Linked DNA regions of Homo sapiens: regions 1, 2, 3, 5, 6 and 7 are each linked to region 4. The links are contacts of gene promoters, found by promoter capture Hi-C in blood cells and fetal thymus (Javierre and others, 2016). All regions are on one chromosome and are shown on one strand. Each heading gives the region's core, a stretch centred on a gene start or on the middle of the fragment in contact. The rest is flanking DNA. Distances are from core to core; before and after follow the strand shown. Region 1 overlaps RFFL (ring finger and FYVE like domain containing E3 ubiquitin protein ligase). Region 2 has its middle 1.6 kb from the start of SLC35G3. Region 3 overlaps RAD51D (RAD51 paralog D). Region 4 holds the start of SLFN12L (schlafen family member 12 like). Region 5 overlaps RFFL (ring finger and FYVE like domain containing E3 ubiquitin protein ligase). Region 6 overlaps FNDC8 (fibronectin type III domain containing 8). Region 7 overlaps UNC45B (unc-45 myosin chaperone B).

Region 1 (3,331 bases), core at 21-2,520, 480 kb after region 4:
TTCTTTCATTTGAGTTCTGGATGTGGAGTTAGGTCCAATTAAATCACTGATTATATAAATCTTAGAAAAGTAAAACGTTAGGTTTACAGCTTTATCCGTCATTTGCTCTTGTATTTTGTTTTTTTGTGTGTATCTTGTGAGAAACACTTTAGTCAAACTAAGCCATTGTTAAAGGAAAAGAAGTGAAGGCATTTGGTTGCCTTCCTAATAACTAAATATTGAGTTGTGGAGAACACTGTCTTATCAGTGAGTTTGTTCCCATATTCCTTTCTGAATTAATAGGAAGAACCTCCCTCATCTCTAATTCTACTAGGCTACTACTCTATCTCCCTCCTGCTTTTCATCGCCAAACTTTTGAGTCCTTCACCTAATCAGACTATGATATCTCTAGGTAGTCGTCACCCTCCAAATTACGTTTCTGCTCCTTATAATTCCAACAAATTGCCCACGTTCTCTTTCACCTCAGACCTTAGCATATGTAAGCGTTCTTTTACACACCTTCCCCAAGCTTAATCTGGCCAACTGGTTTCAGCCTAGAAGTCACCTCTTCCATGAAGCCTCTTCTTACTTACCAGGGTTGAGTACTCAGGAGAACCTGGTATTTACTCCAATCATAGTATGTATTGAGAATCAGGGTCTGCTTTGCTAGAATTGTATCCATGGTACGTTGCACATAGTAGGTTCTCAGTAAGGGTAGAATGAGCAAGAGCCTGTACTGTACTTTCTCAACTCTGATCCTCTCATCAACTCTTTTTTTTTTCTTCTGAGAGGAATCTTGCTCTGTCACCCAGGCTGCAGTGCAGTGGTGTGATCTTAGCTCACTGCAACCTCTGCCTTCCTGGTTCAAGCGATTCTCCTGCCTTAGCCTCCTGAGTTGCTGGGACTACAGGTACGTGCCACCACGCCCAGCTAATTTTTGTATTTTTAGTAGAGACAGTGTTTCACCATGTTGGCGAGGATGGTCTCGATCTCTTGACCTCATGGTCCACCTGCCTTGGCCTCCCAAAGTGCTGGGTTTACAGGTGTGAGCCACCGCGCCCGGCCTTGTTCATTCTTTTTATGCTCACATCTTTAAATGTGCTAAACCCTGTTGATTTTGTTGGAGTACTGTTTGATGTGTGGCTTTTCTTCATTCCCACTGTCATTGCCTTAATTTACCAGAGGTCAAAACTGGACGTTTAAAGTCAGGCTGGGCACGGTGGCTCACGCCTGTAATCCCAGCACTTTGGGAGGCCGAGGTGGGCAGATCACCTGAGGTCAGGAGTTTGAGACCAGCCTGGCTAACATGGTGAAACCCCATCTCTACTAAAAACAAAAAATTAGCTGGGCGTGGTGGCACGTGCCTATAATCCCAGTTACTCAGGATGCTGAAGCAGGAGAATCACTTGAACCCAGGAGGTGGAGGTTGCAGTGAGCGAGGATCACACCACTGCACTCCAGCCTGAGCAACAGTGAGACTCCATATCAAAAAAAAAAAAGAGTTTGAGACCATCCTGGCCAACATGGTGAAACCCTGTCTGTATTTAAAAAAAAAAAAAAAGGCACGCCACGCATGGTGGCCAGTGCCTGTGGTACCAGCTACCCAGCAGGCTGAGAAAAGAGAATTGCTTGCACCCAGGAGGTGGAGGTTTCAATGAGCTGAGATTGTGCCACTGAACTCCAGCCTAGGCACAGAAGAAGACTCCATCCCAAAAATCAATCAGTCAGCCTAAGGGCTTAAAATTTTGTGTGTGAATACTTTTAGGCACCATCAGAGAGAAGGCCTGTACTCTTCAAAGATTACGGATACCACCATTTTCTGACATCTTACACACTGAAGACTTAGCATTTTACCTGCATTGCCTCTAGGAATTTGAGTTTGTAACTCCTAGTTCAGACCCTTATCAAATGGCCACTCCTCCATAAGTCTTTCCTTGCTCCTATCTTCTCCATATTGTTGCCCAAGTTATCTTTTTAAAGTCCACATCTAATCTTTTCATTTAAGGTGCCATTTGTTCCCTGTTTTCCACTTAGCTTGACTTCTAAAAGCTTTCACAGTTGGATTCTTTCCTACATGTTGCTGTTAACCATCTCATCTCCCTCTCCCCTGGCCATTTCTCTCCTCTCCAGCTTCACTGAACTTCTCATGTTAACATTCCATGGATATACCATGTCTTTTAGGACTCTGCCTTTTCCCAATGGACTCTCCCTTCTCTAACTGGCAAGATACTCATCCCTCAGGACACTTAGTTCATATATGCATCTTCTCTGACTTCTCTGTCTTTTCTGACAGACAGCACTGTCTGTCTCTTCCACTAGACTGTTGAGTTCTTTGACTGAACTTGGTGTCCCTGGACTAGAGCTTGGCACCATCAGAGAGAGTGGCTGACGTGGATCTCCGGGCTCAAACCGTTATTCTTTGCAATATTAGAAGCTTTTTTGTTAGATGGCATGGTTTTTCATTCCTATTTGATGAACATGAGCCCATGGCTGCTTATTTTGTATGTGTTACCTGCCACCATCAAGTAATCATTCAAAGTTAATTTGAAGATTTAAAGGGTTTGCTGAGATCTAGTCCCGCAATATCACGACATTTTTATGGTGTTTTACAAAATTATTTCCCTCATATGGTTTTATTTGCGTTGGGTAGGCTTTATTTATTATCCCTATTTTACCAGTGATTATAAAGCTAGTCTGATACCAAAGCATATATACATTTAGGTAAGACTCAGAGAGAAAACATGGTTCTTACACTGCATTAAGCAGCTGGTTTGTCTCTTAATATAGTAGTTAAATATACTCTATCAGGTTCCACAGAAATGGTGCCTTTGCTCGATAGGCAAGTGCTAACGGTCTTGCCTTTTACAAGGCCACTTTATCATCAAGGTAGGAGGAGGAGGTACTCTGAACCTGCCTGACCTATGGGAAGGCCCTGGTTGTGGTTAGAGACCTTGATTGAAATTAATGGTGTGCGTACTCCAACCTCTCAGGTTTTTCTTTTATACTTCAAATATCTGGAAGTTGTGAAAACCTGCTGCCCTGGTGGAGTATCAAACCAGGCTGGTGAGTGAAAGCGGTCATCCCAAAATGGAGTAAGCTGAGTGTTAAGGGCAGAAAACCTTTTACAGTTATAGTAAGTAATTAACTTTTTAGATCACTTCACAACTTTTGGAGTGCTAAAATGCCATATTTGGGACTATGAGAAATTCCATTATAAAAAGCTGAACCATTAGAGCTAGGAAATAATCTCTGTTAGATATTGGCATATGGTGTTCAATTTTGGGTCTCTCATACTTGAGAGGATAATTAAAATGATTAAAAGGTTGAAAAACAGGTCTTATCATTATAAGTT
Region 2 (3,192 bases), core at 1-2,500, 340 kb after region 4:
GGGAGGCCAAGGTGGAAGAACTGCTTGAGCCGAGGAGTTCACCTCTACCAAAAAAAAAAAAATTTTTTTACCAGGTTTGTCAATGCATGCCTGAGGTACCAGCTACTCCAGGAGCTGAGGTAGGAGGATTGCTTGTTTGGGCTCAGGAGTTTGAGGCTGCAGTGAGCCATGATTGTGACATTCATTCCAGCCTGGGAAAGAGAATGAAACCATGCCTCAAAAAAAAACAAAAAACATTAAAATTCATACAAAACTGCAAAAAAAAAAAAAAAAAAAAAGCCAAGGCAATCGTGAGCAAAAAGAAAAAAAGCTGGAGATATTTGCTTCAGAGCTCTCTGAAGTTGAAAAAACTGGAGGTATCACACTATCTGATTTTAAACTATACTACAAAGCTATACTAATTAAAATAGTATGAAATAATCGCTTCTCTGCCTTTTGGCTAAGATCAAGTAAGTGTAAAACAGCATGGAATTGGCAAAAAAGAAAAAGACACATCAACCAATGGAACAGAATAGAAAGCCCAGAGATGAATCTGATTTTCAACAAATATGCCAAGAAGAAAAAGACCGCTTTTTTCAATAAATGGTGTAGGGAAAACTGAATTTCCACATGCAGAAAAAGAAAATTGGACCCTTATTTCAACACCATATACAAAAGTTAGTTCAAAATGGATTACATACTTAAACATTCCTGCATTAGTTTGCTCAGGAAAATTGCCAACAAAAAAAAAAAAAAAAAAAAAAAAAGGAAAGAAAGAAAAAAAAGAGACCTTTAAGACCAAGAACCTAAAACTGCTAGAAGAAAACATAGGGGATCAGCTGACAGCCTCCTTTAAAAAAAAAAAAAAAAAAGAAAGAAAACATAGGGGAAACATACAAGACATTGGTCTGGGTAATGATTTTTTGGATTTGTTCCCAAAAGCACAGACAACAAAATTAAATATAGACAAATGGTATCATATCAAAGTAAAAAGCTTCTTGGTTCATGATGTGTAGCTAAAACAAACAAACTAAAAACCTTCTGCACAGCAAACAATCAACAGAGTAAAGAGATAACCTATGGAATGGGAGAAAATATTTGCAAGCCAGACATCTGATAAGGGGTTAATATCCAACACATATAAAGAGCTCAAACAACTCAATAGCAACAAAACAAAACAAAAAAGCAATTAAGACCTGCTTTCTGCTGACCAAGTCTTCTTCCTTACCCCTCCCTAATAAGAAGAAAAAAAGGCAATTAAAAGATGGGTAACTCCTCCTTAGTATAGTGGTAAAATTTAAACATTAAAAAAGTTTTGGGACCAGTCTGGTCACTCACACCTGTAATCCCAGCACTTTCGAAGGCCAAGGTGGGCAGATTGCCTGAGCCCAGGAGTTCAAGACTAGCCTGGGCAACATAATAAAACACTGTCTCTACAAAAAAAAAAAAAAAATTAGCTGGGCTTGAGCCATGTTTGTGTCACTGCACTTGAGCCTGGGTGAGAGAGCGAGACCCTGTCTCAAAAAAAAAAAAAAAAAAAAAAGCTTTAAGTTGTAAAAAAAAGTGGGTAAGATCAAAAGAAGAGAAGGAAAGAAAACAATGTATAAGATACCTGAGCTCTCCCTCTCCCTCTCCCTCTCCCCACGGTCTCCGTTTCCCTGTCTTTCCACGGTCTCCCTCTGATGCGGAGCCGAAGCTGGACTGTACTGCTGCCATCTCGGCTCACTGCAACCTCCCTGCCTGATTCTCCTGCCTCAGCCTGCGATTGCAGGTGCGCACCGCCACGCCTGACTGGTTTTCGTATTTTTTTGGTGGAGACGGGGTTTCGCTGTGTTGGCCAGGCTGGTCTCCAGCTCCTAACCACGAGTGATCTGCCAACCTCGGCCTCCCGAGGTGCCGGGATTGCAGACGGAGTCTCATTCACTCAGTGCTCAATGTTGCCCAGGCTGGAGAGCAGTGGCGTGATCTCGGCTAGCTACAACCTCCACCTCCCAGCCGCCTGCCTTGGCCTCCCAAAGTGCCGAGATTGCAGCCTCTGCCCAGCCGCCACCCCGCCTGGGAAGTGAGGAGCGTCTCCGCCTGGCCGCCCATTGTCTGGGATGTGAGGAGCCCCTCTGCCCGGCTGCCCAGTCTGGGAAGTGAGGAGCGCCTCTTCCCGGCCGCCATCCCATCTAGGAAGTGAGGAGCGCCTCTTCCCGGCCGCCATCCCGTCTAGGAAGTGAGGAGCGTCTCTGCCCGGGGGCCCATCGTCTGAGATGTGGGGAGCGCCTCTGCCTGGCCGCGACCCCATCTGGGAGGTGAGGAGCGTCTCTGCCCGGCCGCCCCATCTGAGAAGTGAGGAGCCCCTCCGCCCCGCAGCTGCCCCATCTGAGAAGTGAGGAGCCCCTCCGCCCGGCAGCCGCCCCGTCTGAGAAGTGAGGAGCCCCTCCACCCGGCAGCCGCCCCGTCTGGGAAGTGAGGAGCTTCTCTGCCCGGCAGCCGCCCCGTCCAGGAGGGAGGTGGGGGGCAGCCCCCGCCGGGCAAGCTGCCCCGTCTGGGAGGGAGGTGGGGGGTCAGCCCCCGCCCGGCCGCTGCCCCGTCCGGGAGGTGGGGGGCACCGCTGCCCGGCCGCCCCTTCTGGGAAGTGAGGAGCCCCTCTGCCCGGCCACCACCCCGTCTGGGAGGTGTACCCAACAGCTCATTGAGAACGGGCCATGATGACGGTGGTGGTTTTGTGGAATAGAAAAGGGGGAAAGGTGGGGAAAAGATAGAGAAATCAGATTGTTGCTGTGTCTGTGTAGAAAGAAGTAGACATGGGAGACTTCATTTTGTTCTGTACTGGGAAGGGTTCTTCTGCCTTGGGATGCTGTTGATCTGTGACCTTGCCCCCAGCCCTGTGCTCTCTGGGGCATGTGCTGTGTCCACTCAGGGTTAAATGGATTAAGGGCGGTGCAAGATGTGCTTTGTTAAACAGATGCTTGAAGGCAGCATGCTCGTTAAGAGTCATCACCACTCCCTAATCTCAAGTACCCAGGGACACAAACACTGCAGAAGGCCGCAGGGTCCTCTGCCTAGGAAAACCAGAGACCTTTGTTCACTTGTTTATCTGCTGACCTTCCCTCCACTATTGTCCTATGACCCTGCCAAATCCCCCTCTGCGAGAAACACCCAAGAATGATCAATAAAAAAAAACAAAAAACAAAAAAAGAAAGAAAAGAAGCAGAGTTGGACTCA
Region 3 (2,589 bases), core at 90-2,589, 430 kb after region 4:
CCCTGAGTGGAAGGATCATGTCATATTTATGTCTGCATTCCCCACTAGGTGAGTGAGGAATACTTTTAGCTGCAAGTAATAGAGGTTGTCTGACAGAGACTTGAAGCTTGAGGACATTTAATTATGTCACATGAGTTGGGAGGTTGGCAGGTCCATGCTATCAGGGCAATAGATTTGTGTGTCTGATTTTCTTGTTCTTCCCCTCATGGTTGCAAAGAGGCTGCCAAAGCTCCAAGCATCTTGTCTTCACACATCCACATCCATATTCAAGGCAGTAAAAGATAGATGGTTCTTTTCTGTACCTCCTCCCTTTTATCAGGGATGAAGAATCTTTCTCCAGAGCCCACTAATAGACGTCCCTCTTCCCCTTACATCTAGTTGGCCAAAATGGGGTTATGTGTGTATCTTGGACTAAGACCTGGGCCCACCATCCCTGAAGTCAGATTTCTGCCCAGTCGCTGAACACATTCAGAGTCATGTTAATGGGAAGGATTTAGAATGGCATTTGGGTTGGCACTTTGCTACTCATGTTGGGTGCTTAGACAGGATTTGGTGCACTGATTTATAAATGACTAGATGTGGAGGATACCTTAAAGATAGAATAGTTTATCTCAAACTTTTCCTCTCACCCCAAAGCATGACGTGTTCACACGGGCATCCCCACGACTATATATAAAGTCAATGATTTTTACAAACTTTAGAACATATAATAGTTGAACAAGCTGGGAGTGGTGGCCCACACCTGTAATCCTAATGACTCCAGAGGCTGAGACGGGAGGATTGCTTGAGCCTAGCAGTTGGAGGTTGCAGTGAGCTATGATCATACCACTGTACCTTAGCCTGGTCAGCAGAGCTAGACCCCGTCTTTAAAAAAAAATGTTGAACAAATACTTACCTCAGAAGTCATAGCTGGTTATGACCCACCAGCTTGTTGAGACATGAAGCTGAGTAGTGCTTACCTCACTTTTAGAGATGAGAAGAGTGAAGGCCGGAGAAGTGAAGTGAGTTGACCAAAGTTGACCAAATATTTAGGGCAAGAACTAACCTTATAGCCCAAACCTCTCAATTCCAGATCAGAAGACTGTATTTTTTACTGTAGGACCATTAGATGATATATCTTCTATTATTGCATAATAAGTTACCAAAACCTTAGTGGCTTAAGACATAGTATTTCTTATCTCACAGTTTCTAGGGGTTAAGAATCTGAGACTAGGAGCGGTGGCTCACGCCTAAAATCCCAATGCTTTGGAAGGCCAAGGCAGGAGGATCACTTGAGCCCAGGAGTTCAGGACCAGCCTGGGCAGCATAGCAAGACCCTGTCTTAAAAAAAAAAAAAAGAAAAAGAAAGAAGAAAAGAAAAAGAACCAGAATCAGGATATAAGAAGTAAGGGAGAAGAGAAAAGAAGCATCAAAAACAGTTTAAGTCCAGGGAAACCAGGAGGATTCTCCTGCTTGTGTAAAGACAGAAAATTATGGTTAGAAAGATGGCACAGGCTAGGCTTGGTGGCTCATGCCTGTAATCCTGGCATTTTGGGAGGCCAAAGTGGCCAGATCACTTGAGGCCGGATTTCGAGACCAGCCTGGCCAACACGGTAAAACCCCGTCTCTGCTAAAAATACAAAAATTAGCACCCGTAGTGTGCACCCAATGTGTGCACCCATAGTCACAGCTACTTAGGAAGCTGAGGCATGAGAATCGTTTGAACCGAGGAGGCAGAGGTTGCAGTTAGCTGAGATCATGCCACTGCACTCCAGCCTGGGTGACAGAGCAAGACTTAGGGAATTTATTTGGAGGCATTTTAGATACGGAAGATGAGGCCTAGAGGCATGATCTAGAAGGAGACAGTGAAGTAAAGAGAAGGCTAAACTCTTCAGCAAAGGAAGTTAGGAATTTGAGGGTGGTAGTTAGCAGGACAAGGGAAAGAAAGGAGGGAGTCAGAAAAGGAAAAGAAGGGCCTTACCACCATGGTGGGAGGCTGGACACAGGAGAGAGATGGCTGCTGAGAGATCCATGACCAGAGGCCTCAGGACTCTCTGCGGAGCTTTCTGAAATTTGATGACTTTAATGTAGTTTTTAGTTATTTTATTTTATTTTTTTTGAGACAGAGTCTTGCTCTGTCGCCCAGGCTGGAATGCAGCGGTGTGATCTCAGTTCACTGCAACCCCCGCCTCCCAGTTTCAAGCGATTCTCCTGCCTCAGCCTCCTGAGTAGCTGGGATTACAGGTGTGCACCACCACGCCCAGCTAATTTTTGTATGTTTAGTGGAGACGGGGTTTCACCATGTTGGCCAGGCTGGTCTCGAACTCCTGACCTCAAGTGATCCACCGCCTTGGCCTCCCAAAGTGCTGGGATTACAGGCGTGAGCCACTGCGCCCAGCCACTTTAGTGTAGTTTTGATGTCCTGTGATTTAAACCCTTTCTTTCTACCCAAGTCTTCATTGAAGTCTGTTACACATGCCAATGGGACGAGGGAGACATTGCTGCTGATGACATTCTGTGATGCCCGTGCAGCTTGCTGTATTTGGGATGGGGGGGCTATTTCTTACTAGTTTTAGATAGAAAAGCAAGCTTGTCCTGTAATGTGTCCTA
Region 4 (3,401 bases), core at 710-3,209:
ATGAGATTCGATTCTTCCTTCGTTTTATGTCCCGAGAGCTTGGCTTTAAAATAGTCTCTCTGGTCCTCGCCGCCAGAGGGCGCAAGTGTTGCTGGTTTGCATCAGGCCACCAGCCTGGAACCCAAAATCTAAGATAAGCAGCATTTTCGTCCGCCTGTGCCAGCTCTCAGAGAAGTTTGTCTTAATAAAAGGTCCCAGTCCATAAGAGGCGTTTGTCACCTGAACCTTCATTTTTCTTTTCTTTCTTTCTTTCTTTCTTTCTTTCTTTCTTTCTTTCTTTCTTTCTTTCTTTCTTTCTTTCTTTTTTTTTGAGTACAGGGTTTCATTCTGTCGCCCACGTTGGAGTGCAGTGGCGTGATCTTGGTCACTGTAACCTCCGCCTCCCGGGCTCAAGTGATTCTCCCGCCTCAGTCTCGCGAGTACCTGAAATTTCTGACATGCACCACCAGGCCTGGCTAATTTTTGTATTTTTTGTAGAGACAGGGTTTCACCATATTAGCCAGGCTGGTCTTGAACTCCTAACCTCAAGTAATCTGCCCGCCGCAGCCTCCCAAAATACTGAGATTATAGGTGTGAGCCACCGCGCCCGGCAAAAGGGCTGCATGGTTTGCATCCTCCTTGGGGATGTCTCTTACATCCATGGTTAAGTGATAAAAGGCTTATAGGTTTTAAGCCATAAAAACTTACTGGTTTTGAGTCACAATTAAGACAGGTATACCTTTGAAGATTTGAACTTTTATATCTAAAAGGATTTTTTTTTAAAAGAAAGCTGTCATCCTAAACAAATGTCTATGGAAAGATGAGATCGAAAGAAAATATTAATAGGCAAAGATGAGAATCAATTTTTATCAAAATTATTAAATTTTGTGTTTATGTATACCTAATCATGGCTAAGATTTTAAATGAAAATTATAAGATCTATTTGTGTCTGTCTTTATGTTTATGCCTATATGTGTGTGTTGTGTATATGTGATATGTCTCTACCTCCTGATATTGCACCACTACTTGACAGTATAATTCAGAATGTCTGGGGAAGGACCTTAGCATCTGAATTTTTAAAAAGCATGCCAAAAGATTTGAACAAGCAGCCAAGATTGGGAACTAATTATCTGATTAACGAATGACATCTCTAATTCAATTCCCTCTAGTGCACAGCACCTTTTCTTATAGCTAAAAATGATTGCTAAATCCACACTGTAATAATTTTTTCAATGTATAAGGATAGAAACCCAAAAAAAATGGAACAAGAAACCAACAAGAGCTCAAGGGAATTGTGACTCCTACAGCTGTTGAGGGAGACAGCAGGTCAAAAAGTAGCAGAAACTTGATCAGAACAATAGCAACAGTATTAGCAGCTAAATTAATAGCAGTGAATCCATCTCGGCTCTAATTACAACAACTATTAGGATTATGGAGGCTACTATAAAAATTGAATGAGAAAGTCAGTGAGATGCACTGTTTAATTTCCTTTCTGGCTCTTTCACTGTTTCTTTTTGTTTTGTTTTTTCCCTTTTCCTTGCCAATAAAAAATATTTGTTGAGTAACTCAGGCCTACTGTACAAAGTAACAATTCTCTCCTCCCTTTCCATCTTCTTCCTCTCCAGTTCTACTTCTGAGAAAGTAATCCTTAATAACAGTTTGGTGTGTATCCAAAAAAGCTTTTTTGTAGCATTATTCTCCAAAGTGTTTGAAGCATTTCTTCTGATAAAGTTTCTTTAGTCTTTAGCCAGAACTAGTCTTTGGCCCACTTAGTCTATTGATAAACAGGAAATAGCACATATTCCCCCCTTGAGGCTAGAATGGCAGGCCTAAAATGAGTAGGAGAATTCTGAGAAATGGAAACTTTAAAAAGGCGGCAACCTTCTAGTTTCATTCTCAGAAATACCAAAGCAGCATTTTTCCTGGACTTGTTCTGCAGAGCGCTCAGATTTGAAAGCCATTTCTAGCCTTTGAGGATTACCACTGTCCTCAGCCAAACTGCAGGGACTCCTAAGTAGATCAGAGCTCCTGGAACTTTCTCATCTTTTCAGCATCTCAACCCTGTGGAATCTTTTAACTCCCAAGGTAAGTACAGATTGTCCAGAGAGATCTAAGCCATGCTTATTCAATGGAATGGAGAGTCTCTCAAAGAGACCTCATAACTCTAAGATGAAAATCTCCTCTGTGGCTACAGACTTTTCCAGATATACCCACTTTAGGCAAGAGAGGATGAAGTAGACACTTTAGGTCTACACTTTTAATAAATAAGTGAAATAGACAATGAGAGGAGCTGGTCCTTAGACTGTACTCACCTTGTAGCTGAGGCCAGGGATGTAGGACTCAAGCCCAGAGGAACCTGGCTGGGCTGAGAGAAAGAGATGTAGAGGGTTCTCATAGTTCTGGGGAACAAACCTTCAGATAAGACAAGTGAGGAGACTTGGGAGGAAGGGATGCCTGTGAAGATTCTCTTTTTTTTTTGAGACAGGTTCTCACTCTTTCGCCCAGGCTGTCGTGCAGTGGTGCGATCACAACTCACTGCAGCTTCGACCTTCCAGGGCTCAAAGGATCCTCCTGCTTCAGCCTTTGAAAGTGCGGGGACTACAGGCACTGAGCGTGAGGGTGCCTGGCTAATTTTTTTCGTTTCTGTAGAGAGGAAGTCTTGCTAGATTGACCAGGCTGGTTTCAAACTCCTGACCTCAAGTAATCGTCCCACCTTGGCCTCCCAATGTGCTGGGATTATAGACATTAGCCACCGTACCCAGCCTCGCCTGTGAAGATTCTTTAGCAGTTAGCTGATTGCTTCATCACTATGAAAAGGGGTTTCTTATTTTTCTTATTTTTTTTTTTTTGAGACAGGCTCTCACTCTGTCACCCAGGCTGGAGTGCAGTGATGCAATCGTGGCTCACTGCAGTCTCAACCTCCCTAGGCTCAAGTGATCCTCCCGTCTCAGACTCTCGAGGAGCTGGGACTATAGACCATGCACCACCACACCCAGCTAATTTTTTTATATTTTGTAGAGACTGGATTTCCTTGCTCAGACTGGTCTCAAACTCCTGGGCTCAAGCAATCTGCCCACCTTAGCCTCCCAAAGTGCTGGGATTACATGCATGAGCCACTGAGCCCAACTGTGTTTTTTTGTTTTTCGTAATATATAAACTATTTTGTTTTCAGAGAAACTTAAGCTATATTGACTGGGAAACTGTGATCTAGTTGGATTTAGATATAATGTTTGCAAATGTGTCACTGCATTGGGTCTTTTTGTTTACCAACATTAATTAAAGCAGATACTTGTGAAGGCCCTAGATGTTCTGTCTAGCTGTGTTTTTACATGTGACTTTTGCTTGCCTGTGTTTAACAGAAATAGACCTATGTTTTTCTTGTTATCAAATGTGTTTTATAAAATAAATGCTATCACAAATAC
Region 5 (3,186 bases), core at 677-3,176, 500 kb after region 4:
ATGTTGTCTAGGCTGGTCTTGAACTCCTGACCTCAACTGATCCGCCTGCCTTGGCCTCCCAGAGTGCTGGGATTGTAGGAGTGAGCCACCATGCCCAGCCATCATTTTAGAATTATAATTTTTAGCTGGATGCGGTAAAAAAAATCCTTTCTCAGCCTTCAGGTCTCATCTCAAGTATCACCGACATGAGGAGTCCTCCCCCATTTACACACACCAGCTCGGTGTGAAGAACCGAAAGGTCACACTACCTTTCGGTTCTTCACACACCAGCCCACTATGGCTTGAAGTTAACGAGTGAGAAAAGTAGCACGGCATGAATTGGAGAAGTGGTCAGGGTCTTTAACCATGTAAGAAGTGATTATTTTTATTCTAAAATGCAATAGGAGTCCATTAAAGAACTTTTTTTTGAAGAGTTTTTAAACATTTTTATGTACAAAGAGTTAACATGATTTCTTTCATTGGGTGGATGCCTTGGATAATCCATCCAAGGAAGATCACTTCTAGGAACAAGCAACATTAAAGAGCTTTAAGTGTGTGTGTTGAGGGGAGGAGGGCAGTGGGTGATGCCTTGTGGAGAAATAGGTGGATAGAGGCAAGAATTAAAGCTAGGAAACCCGTTAGGAGGCTGTTCTTTTACCCAAGAAGCCATTCTAGACTCTGGAAATTCGGTAGAGCACAAAGTCCCTGCCCTCATGGGGTTTCTATTCTAGTTAGGGAAAGCAGTTAATAAATAAGCAAATAATATCAGCTAATACCAAATGTTATGGTGAAATTAGAAAATGACATTAAAAGGCTGGTCGTGGTAGCTCACACCTGTAATCCCAGAGCTTTGGGAGCCTGACGCAGGAGGATCCTTAGAGCCCAGGAGTTCGAGATTACAGTGAGCTATGATCAAGCCACTGCACTCCAGCTTGGAGAGAGACCCTATCTCTCTCTCCCTCACACACACACACACACACACACACACACCAAAAAAAAAAAAAAAAAAAAAAAGACATTAAAGCTGATGTTTGGATGACAAGAAGGAGCTAAGCATAGGAAGTTCTAGGGAGACCAATCCAGGCAGAAGGAACAAACAACAAATCTAAAGGGCCTAAGGAGGGAAATGTGATTAATATATGAAAGATGATGTTTTAACCCACCAGCAGGAGCAGGGGAGATGAAGGTAGGAATTTATGCATCTTTGATTTAAGAAAAGTATTTTTTATTTTTTTTTTACTTTTTTTTTTTTTGAGAGAGAGTCTCGCTCTGTCGCCCAGGTTGGAGTGCAGTGGCATGATCTCAGCTCACTGCAACCTCTGCCTTCCAGGTTCAAGTGATTCTCCTACCTCAGCCTCCCAAGTGGCTGGGACTATAGGTGCCTGCCACCATGCCTGGCTAATTTTTTATATTTTTAGTAGAGACGGGGTTTCACCATGTTGGCCAGGCTGGTCTTGAACTCCCGACCTCAAGTGATCTGCCCGCCTTGGCCTCCCAAAGTGCTGGGATTACAGGTGTGAGCCACCACACCCGGCCAAGAAAGGTATTTAAAGCAACCTGAGGTGTGGTTGGAGAGGGAGGCCTAAGACAGCCTGGACACTCACAACATTTAAGAACAGAGGGAGGGGTAAGAAGCAGCAAAAAGGCTTTGAGGTAGGAGGAAAGCCACGGGGGCAGAGTGCTAGAAGCTAAGAGATGTTTAGAGGGGGAGAGTCGCTTGTGTCCAGCATTGCTGAGAGATTAAGATGAGGATAGAGAAGTGTCAATTAGATCTGGCCACTTGGAATTCCTTGGTGACCTTGAAGAGATTAGGAATGGTGGTTGGCTCAAGCTAGATTGGAGAAGGTTTAAGAGTGAATTAGAGGTTAAGAAAGTGGAGTCGGCCAGATGCGGTGGCTCATGCCTGTAATCCCAGCACTTTGGGAGGCCGAGGTGGGCAGATCACCTGTGGTTGGGTGTTTGAGACCAGTCTGACCGACATGGAGAAGCCGTCTCTACTAAAAATACAAAATTAGCTGGGCATGGAGTTGTATGCCTGTAATCCCAGATACTCGGGAGGCTGAGGCAGGAGAATTGCTTGAACCCGGGAGGCAGAGGTTGCAGTGAACTGAGATCGTGCCATTGCACTCCAGCCTGGGCAACAAGAGTGAAATTCCGTTTCAAAAAAAAAAAGTGGAGTCAAATATTTGGAGAAATTTGATTTAGAGGAGATCACAGAAAAAGAGCTTTACTGGGGAGGGGGAGAATGTGGGGTCAAAATGGGGTTTTATTTTTTATTTTTTTGTTATTTTTTACAAATTACAAATATTTGACTAGGTGCTTTAAAAAATCTGTCATTGGCTGGGCGTTGTGGCTCATGCCTATAAGCCCAGCACTTTGGGAGGCCGAGGTGGGCGGATCATGACGTTAGGAGATCAAGACCATCCTGCCCAACATGGTGAAACGCCGTCTCTACTAAAAATACAAAAATTAGCTGGGTGTGATGGCACGTGCCTGTAATCCCAGCTACTCGGGAGGCTGAGGCGTGAGAATCGCTTGAACCCAGCAGGCGGAGGTTGCAGTGAGCCGAGGTTGCGCCACTGCACTCCAGCCTGGCGACAGAGCGAGACTGCGTCTCAAAAAAAAGAAAAGAAAAAAATCTGTCATATGGGCTGGGTGCAGGGGCCCATGTCTGTAATCCCAGCACTTTGGGAGGCTGAGGCGGGTGGATTGCTTGAGCCCAGGAGTTCGAGATCAGCCTGGGCAACTTGATGAAACCCCATCTAGACAAAAAAATACAAAAAATTAGGTGTGGTGGTGCGCGCCTGTAGTCCCAGCTACTCGGCATGCTGTGGCAGGAGGATCACGTAAGCCTGGGAGGTCCAGGTTACAGTGAGCCATGGTCGCAACACTGCACTCCAGCCTGAGCAACAGAGTGAGACACCCTATCTCAAAACAAAACACAACACTCATATAAACTTTTAATTCAAATGTAACTAGAGAAGTATATAAATTATAAGTGTACAGTTCGATGAATTTTTACAAAGTCAACATATCTACATAATCAGCATTCAGAGTAAGAAACAATGTTACCAGAAGCCCCTTGGGCTGCCTTCCATCTGTAATCCTACCTCACAGGATGACCACTATCCTGATTTTGAACACCATAGTTTGCCTGTTTTTGAATTTTATGTAAAACGAATCATTTCCCATGTATTCATTTATGCC
Region 6 (3,419 bases), core at 358-2,857, 410 kb after region 4:
CAGTCCCTGGTGCCAAAAAGGTTGGTTCTAGACTCTGTCTAGACTCTGTTAGCTGAGAGGGACCTTAGAGATCATCTTATCGACTAGGTCCAGAGAGGGCAAGTGACTGGTCCATCATCATACGGCAATTAAGTGACAGCCAGTGTTCAAACCCATAGCTCCAGAGCCCATACACTTTGTACTACAATGGTTGCCAAGCCTGGCTAAGCATCTCAGGGAGATTTTGTAACTGCAGATTTCTGGGCCTGCTGCCTCCTGTCTGGTTTCTCCTCCATCTAGGCCAGTGTTTGTCAAACTTGGTGTGCATTAGAATACCCTGGAGGACTTATTAAAAGATAGATTACTGGGCTCCGCCCCAACAGTTTCTGACTCAGGAGGCCCAAATGTGGTGGAGGGAGATGAGAATTTAAATTTGTAACAATTTGCTGAGTGATGCTGACATTGTCCATCTGGAGAGCACTTTGAGAAACACTGCTCTGGGCCATCCAACAGTGGAATTCCAGGCATCCTCCCAAGATACAGCTCGAATTGCTTTCATCATCTGATGTGAAGCTTTTTACAAAGCTGTTCCCTATTACTTACAGAAAAGTCTATAAAGTAGTCTAACACTGGAGGACTCTGGAAGATGATCCCAGACTAACATTCCCCATCCTGTCCCCTGTCTTCACTTCCCATAGTGTAGGACGGTGTTGTTCGACGTGTAGCCCGCGGACGGGGAGCCACAGCATCCTCTGGGAATCTGTTACTAATGCAAATTATCAGGCTTCACCCTAGACCCTCTAGGGAGGAGGCCCAGCAATTCTGAGTAGCCTCACTCGATCCCAGGTCCTCATCCAGGGCTTCTCACGCTTTCATGTTCCTACAGATCACCTACCATCTTGTTCAAATTGAGATTTCCTCCCTCACTTTCCTGTGAGCTTTTGCTAGGGTCCGCCCCTCCAGGGAATGCCTCCCTCCTCCACCTCTAGATGTTTACATGCTACCTCTACATCCCAGCTCAGATGTTACCAAAAGCCACCAAGCTTATTCCCGCATCTGGAAATATCTTTCCCTCTGAATTCCTGGTGGCACTTGCTCTGAACTTTTCCTACAGCACTGAACCCTTTCTGTCTTGCACTGGAGTTTTTACAGACACATCCTCTCCCTTCCTAAACCGTGAACTTGAGGTCGACATGCAGGTGGCAGGCACCTTCTCACTACCCATGGAGCTCAGCTCAGTGCCTGGCACAATAAGCCTCTGCTGAACGCATGAGCAAGGGAAACGCACCACAGCTGTGGAATTGTTGACGGTGTGCTCAAAGATGAAGGGGGTGTCCGGCAGGTCCACAACCACAGAAGATTCTGAGTGCGTTGAGGAGGTTTCTGTCTCCAGCTCAGGGTTGTCAAGGTCCAGCAGGCCCCTTGTGGCCATCTGGGACTTCGATGGGCATGGGCAGGGGCCGAGCGCCAGGTCCTCATTTTCTGCATTCTTGGCCATTGGGGAGAAGCTGAGTTTGTTCAGCTCCCCCTCCAGCATCCCTGCAAAGAAGCTGCTGTTGGGCTGGGTCACAGCTAATTTGATGGGGTTCAGCAAGGTGGATGAGAAGGCAGAGATGCTGGTCTCATCAGAGCTGCAGTCTGAATCCTCTACTGGCAGCGGCTTCCTGGAGCAAAAGGGGAGACAGGTGAATCAGATGAAGGAGGCCACCCCAGCCCGTTCCACCTGAGGGCAGGCCTTGGGCCTGACTTACCAGCATCCCCAGCCATTTGCAAACAGCTTGGAACAGCCTCATTGCTCTATAGCATTGCATTAGACTCACCAGGGCACTTACTAAAAATGCAGACTTTTAGTCCCTGGTCCCCAGTTAGCATGGGACTAGAGAATCCGCATCTTTAATAAGATCCTGGCTGGGCGCAGTGGCTCACGCCTATAATCCCAGCACTTTGGGAGGCCGAGGCAGGCAGATTCAAGGTCAGGAGTTACAGACCAGCCTGGCCAACATGGTGAAACCCTGTCTCCACTAAAAACACAAAAATTGGCTGAGTGCGGTGGTTGGCACCTGTAATCCTAGCTACTTGGTAGGCTGAGGCAGGAGAATTGCTTGAACCCAGGGGGCAGAAGTTGCAGTGAGCCGAGATCACACCACTGCACTCCAGCCTGGGTGACAGAGTGAAACTCTATCTCAAAAAAAAAAAAAAAAAAAAAAAGCTTAGAAAATCCTGATGCAAGTGTTCTGCAAACCACAATTTAAAAAACATGCTAAAATGGCAAGTCCTCCCTCCAAAGTGGGGTGCAAATGCCCCAGGGAATAACCACAAAGATCTACTGGGGTATGGAAGTAATACATTCAATTTCACTAATGTTTATTTACTATTGTTTAAATTTTAATGGAATTACTAATATTTACTTACATTTTAGTGGCATTTAATAATACCTATTAATATCTAGCACGTAAAATTAACAGAAATACAAATACATATATGGGCCAGGCGCGGTGGCTCACACCTGTAATCTCAGCACTTTGGGAGGCCAAGGTGGGTGTATTACCTGACGTCAGGAGTTCAAGACCAGCCTGGCCAACATAGCGAAACCTTGACTCTACTAAAAATACAAAAAATTAGCTGGGCATGGTGGCGGTTGCCTGTAATTCCAGCTACTTGGAAGGCTGAGGTGGGAGGATCGCTTGAGCCTGGTAGGTGGAGGTTGCAGTGAGCCGAGATCCTGCCACTGCACTCCAGCCTGGGCAACAGAGTGAGACCCTGTCTCAAAAATAAAATAAAACAAATATACATATGTTGGTGTGGATGCTCAAAAACTTATTTCTTCCACTCTGAATTTTTTAAAATTATGAAGTATTTTAGACTTATACAAAAATATCAAGAATATTATATTAAACCTCCATTTACTCCTCATCTACCTTTAGAAATAAAATCTTATCACTATGGGTAAAGCCCCCCAGACACTTCTGTCTCCCACCAAAGTCCCCATCCTTCGACCGACAAGTAATGAGTACAGTAAAGTTTAAATTGTGTATTTATTACTCAATGTGTGTCTTTATAGGTTTCTTACATATTTATGTTATCCCTAGGCAAGATCTATTATTTTTCACGTTTGTAGATGTTGTACAAATAAAAGATATTATTCAGCACATACCCATCTGCAACATGCTTTTTTCACTCAACTTTGTGTTGACATTCATCTATCTTGATACATGTAGCTCTGGTTCAGTCGTTTTTACTGTTTTATGATTTTCCATTACATGGATATTTGTTTTTGTTTTTGTTTTTTGAGACAGGGTCTCCCTCTGCTGCCCAGGCTGGAGTGCAGTGGCACAAACTCCCAGGCTCAAGCCATCCGTCCACCTCCACCTCCTGAGTAGCTGGGACTACAGGTGCACATCACCATGTCTAGCTAATTTTTGTGTTTTTCTGTAGATGCA
Region 7 (3,298 bases), core at 233-2,732, 360 kb after region 4:
TAATGGGTTAGGTTTTCCCCTATAACAGTGAGAAGGTCTAAGGTTCAGGTGTTGAGGGTAAACAGACTGGGTCTCACGCTAGCCCCTATGTGAGGGCCCAGGAGGGACATTCGGCTTGGCCCTCATGTTAATGAAGGGCCTCAAACTTAGACCCTGCTGTTATCTCTGATAAGATTACACATACAGTCACAGCAGTACTCTGACAGGATGGGGAGAAGAAGACATTCACCAGATGGGTATCATTTGTCCCATGACTGGACCATGAAGCCTACGGCATGTTCTGAATTCATTTTATTTTTATAAACCCTGTAATTATTCTGTGCTGAGTACAGTTATATTGCATTGCAATTTCTATGGGAACAGTGGTAGTTCATTAAATGCTGACATTTGAGACATCCTAAAATGGCTGATAACTGTATTTGGCATTTCTTCATTTTTTTTATATATGTGGAGCTTCAATAAATGCAAGTGGTCTAGCCTTCCTTGACCTCTGAGAGGCCCTGGTCTCATATCCTGCTTTGTTTTAAGGTTATTTGGGCCTAAGTAACTTAGGGAAATGGTGCCTTCCACCTCATCTAGCCCAGGGTCTGGATTGAAAGCCCCAGCTTTGTATTTTTTCCTTTATGCATATCTTTCTCTCAGGGCCCCTACAGGGAGGGGGGCTATAATCTAGGAAATATTTAGGGATTCCTGGATTTTCTGCCCAAAATGCTACCTTAATGCCATCATAAGAGCTCCCGATCTCACCCCAGGCCCTGACCCTGGCCTGCCTCTCGTGCCTTGATCACGCCCGGGTCTCCATCCTGAGCCCCTGCCTCACCTCCTTGTGGAGCACCATGTTGCACATGCACTCGGTGGCCGCCTGCCGCAGCTGATCATGATTCTCAAACATGTAGTTCTCGATGTCTGGCAAGGCCCTCTCCTTAAAGATCTTCTGCCTAGGGTAGGAGGGTGGAGGAAGAAAGACCCTTGAGTCTTCTGCCGTGACCATAGGGGTTTTCTGGCCACCCAGGGACCATTCTTCCATTCTGGTGCTGTCCTTCCCACATCCTCAGCCAGCATGGTTTATGTGGCATCACACTGCCCCCAGCTCTAGGAGGGGCACCATGGGCCTCAACTAAATTGTATAGCATGGCATCCTGGCCACAGCAGTGGGTTCTGGATATCACCCAACTGGAGAGCCTCTGTATTATTGCAGTAAAGAAATTCTCTCTCTCTCTCTCTCTCTCTCTCTCTCTCTCTCATCCTGGATGTAGATCCAAGAAGATGTGAAGGCCAGAACTGCCCTTATAACCATGAGAGAGCAGAAAAGCCCATTGAGAATTAAAGCAATACAGAAAGGAGAGGAGAGACAGAGAGAACAGGAACCTAAGGCAGCTTTGTAAGCCCTGCATCAAGCCACACCTGAATCTTGTTACCCCAGACTTTTTATCTACATGAGCCAATAAATTTCCTTTATGCTTAGGCCTATTATAGTTAAGTTTTCTGCTACTGGCAACCAAAAGAATCCCAACCCAGTACATGCTGACATACTCCTGCTTCCAAAGAGGAATACATTTTATCCCACTATCCACCTGGATATCTTTTTTTTTTTAATACTTTAAGTTCTAGGGTACATGTGCACAACGTGCAGGTTTGTTACATAGGTATACATGTGCGTGCCATGTTGGCTTGCTGCGCCCATCAACTCGTCATTTACATTAGGGTATTTCTCCTAATGTTATCCCTCCCCCAGCTCCCCACCCCCAACAGGCCCCGGTGTGTGATGTTCCCCGCCCTGTGTCCATGTGTTCTCATTGTTCAACTCCCACCTACGAGTGAGAACATGCGGTGTTTGGTTTTCTGTCCTTGTGGTAGTTTGCTCAGAATGATGGTTTCCAGTTTCATCTATGTCCCTGCAAAGGACATGAACTCATCCTTTTTTATGGCTGCATAGTATTCCATGGTGCATATGTGTCACATTTTCTTAATCCAATCTATCATTGATGGACATTTGGGTTGGTTCCAAGTCTTTGCTATTGTGAATAGTGCCACAATAAACATACGTGTGCATGTGTCTTTATAGTAGCATGATTTATAGTCCTTTGGGTATATACCCAGCAATGGGATTGCTGGGTCAAATGTTATTTCTAGTTCTAGATCCTTGAGAGCCAAATCATGAGTGAACTCCCATTCACAACTGCTACCAACAGAATAAAATACCTAGGAATCCAATTTACAAGGGATGTGAAGGACCTCTTCAAGGAGAACTACAAACCACTGCTCAACAAAATAAAAGAGGACACAAACAAATGGAAGAACATTCCATGCTCATGGATTGGAAGAATCAATATCATGAAAATGGCCATACTGCCCAAGATAGTTTATGGATTCAATGCCATTCCCATGAAGCTACCAATGACTTTCTTCACAGAATTGGAAAAAACTACTTTAAAGTTCATATGGAACCAAGAAAGAGCAGGCATAGCCAAGACAACCCTAAGCAAAAAGAACAAAGCTGGAGGCATCATCAGGGTCAGGTATCACGCTACCTGACTTCAAACTATACTACAAGGCTACAGTAACCAAAACAGCATGGTACTGGTACCAAAACAGATATATAGACCAATGGAACAGAACAGAGGCCTCAGAAATAACACCACACATCTACAACCATCTGATCTTTGACAAACCTGACAAAAACAAGAAATGATGAAAGGATTCCCTATTTAATAAATAGTGCTGGGAAAACTAGCTAGCCATATGTAGAAAGCTGAAACTGGATCCCTTCCTTACACCTTATACAAAAATTAACTCAAGATGGATTAAAGACTTAAATGTAAGATCTAAAACCATAAAAACCCTAGAAGAAAACCTAGGCAATACCATTCAGGACATAGGCATGGGCAAAGACTTCATGACTAAAACACCAAAAGCAATGGCAACAAAAGCCAAAATTGACAAATGGGATCTAATTAAACTAAAGAGCTTCTGCACAGCAAAAGAAACTATCATCAGAATGAACAGGCAACCTACAGAATGGGAGAAAATTTTTGCAATCTACCCATCTGAAAAAGGGCTAATATCCAGAATCTACAAAGAACTTAAACAAATTTACAAGAAAAAAACAACCGCATCAAAAAGTGGGCAAAGGATATGAACAGACACTTCTCAAAAGAAGACATTTATGCAGCCAACAGACACATGAAAAAATGCTCATCATCACTGGTTATCAGAGAAATGCAAATCAAAACCACAATGAGACACCATCTCACGCCAGTTAGAATGGTGATCATTACTACTGTAGAAAGAAGTGCTG

Evidence for each region. Contacts are between HindIII fragments. The CHiCAGO score rates a contact against its expected background, and 5 or more counts as called.
Region 1: a contact is called between a fragment that was not itself captured here and the fragment with the promoter of SLFN12L in region 4, in 5 of 17 cell types (activated CD4 T cells, non-activated CD4 T cells, naive CD4 T cells and 2 more). The highest score is 11.0, in activated CD4 T cells.
Region 2: a fragment that was not itself captured here is called in contact with the fragment with the promoter of SLFN12L in region 4 in 12 of 17 cell types (non-activated CD4 T cells, total CD8 T cells, naive CD4 T cells and 9 more); the score reaches 17.0 in non-activated CD4 T cells.
Region 3: a contact is called between a fragment that was not itself captured here and the fragment with the promoter of SLFN12L in region 4, in 3 of 17 cell types (activated CD4 T cells, naive CD4 T cells and total CD4 T cells). The highest score is 6.2, in activated CD4 T cells.
Region 5: a fragment that was not itself captured here is called in contact with the fragment with the promoter of SLFN12L in region 4 in 4 of 17 cell types (non-activated CD4 T cells, activated CD4 T cells, total CD4 T cells and 1 more); the score reaches 6.6 in non-activated CD4 T cells.
Region 6: a fragment that was not itself captured here is called in contact with the fragment with the promoter of SLFN12L in region 4 in 2 of 17 cell types (naive CD4 T cells and fetal thymus); the score reaches 8.0 in naive CD4 T cells.
Region 7: a fragment that was not itself captured here is called in contact with the fragment with the promoter of SLFN12L in region 4 in 16 of 17 cell types (naive CD8 T cells, M0 macrophages, M2 macrophages and 13 more); the score reaches 72.9 in naive CD8 T cells.

What each region holds. Positions count from the first base shown.
Region 1 is chr17:35,059,836-35,063,166 of GRCh38, reverse strand. All of the region lies in intron 1 of RFFL (ring finger and FYVE like domain containing E3 ubiquitin protein ligase), which reads left to right. The region is part of intron 5 of RAD51L3-RFFL (RAD51L3-RFFL readthrough); the gene reads left to right. Among named protein-coding and RNA genes, the nearest start is that of RFFL, 2.2 kb to the left of the region's middle. The HindIII fragment of the contact is 1,520 bases long and covers 511-2,030 here.
Region 2 is chr17:35,194,447-35,197,638 of GRCh38, reverse strand. No RefSeq gene overlaps it. Among named protein-coding and RNA genes, the nearest start is that of SLC35G3, 1.6 kb to the right of the region's middle. The HindIII fragment of the contact is 550 bases long and covers 976-1,525 here.
Region 3 is chr17:35,103,587-35,106,175 of GRCh38, reverse strand. The region is part of intron 6 of RAD51D (RAD51 paralog D); the gene reads left to right. The region is part of intron 2 of RAD51L3-RFFL (RAD51L3-RFFL readthrough); the gene reads left to right. Among named protein-coding and RNA genes, the nearest start is that of RAD51D, 15 kb to the left of the region's middle. The HindIII fragment of the contact is 2,462 bases long and covers 109-2,570 here.
Region 4 is chr17:35,536,236-35,539,636 of GRCh38, reverse strand. It overlaps SLFN12L (schlafen family member 12 like), which reads left to right and starts at 1,959. Exons shown (of 5, transcript NM_001363830.2): 1 at 1,959-2,064. RefSeq lists an enhancer at 2,552-2,631. The HindIII fragment of the contact is 3,143 bases long and covers 1,661-3,401 here.
Region 5 is chr17:35,038,649-35,041,834 of GRCh38, reverse strand. The region is part of intron 1 of RFFL (ring finger and FYVE like domain containing E3 ubiquitin protein ligase); the gene reads left to right. The region is part of intron 5 of RAD51L3-RFFL (RAD51L3-RFFL readthrough); the gene reads left to right. Among named protein-coding and RNA genes, the nearest start is that of RFFL, 23 kb to the left of the region's middle. The HindIII fragment of the contact is 4,406 bases long and covers 1-3,186 here.
Region 6 is chr17:35,125,266-35,128,684 of GRCh38, reverse strand. It overlaps FNDC8 (fibronectin type III domain containing 8), which reads right to left. Exons shown (of 4, transcript NM_017559.4): 2 at 1,268-1,643. Among named protein-coding and RNA genes, the nearest start is that of FNDC8, 5.4 kb to the right of the region's middle. The HindIII fragment of the contact is 1,166 bases long and covers 1,025-2,190 here.
Region 7 is chr17:35,178,199-35,181,496 of GRCh38, reverse strand. It overlaps UNC45B (unc-45 myosin chaperone B), which reads right to left. Exons shown (of 20, transcript NM_001267052.2): 18 at 821-938. Among named protein-coding and RNA genes, the nearest start is that of SLC35G3, 15 kb to the left of the region's middle. The HindIII fragment of the contact is 8,641 bases long and covers 1-3,298 here.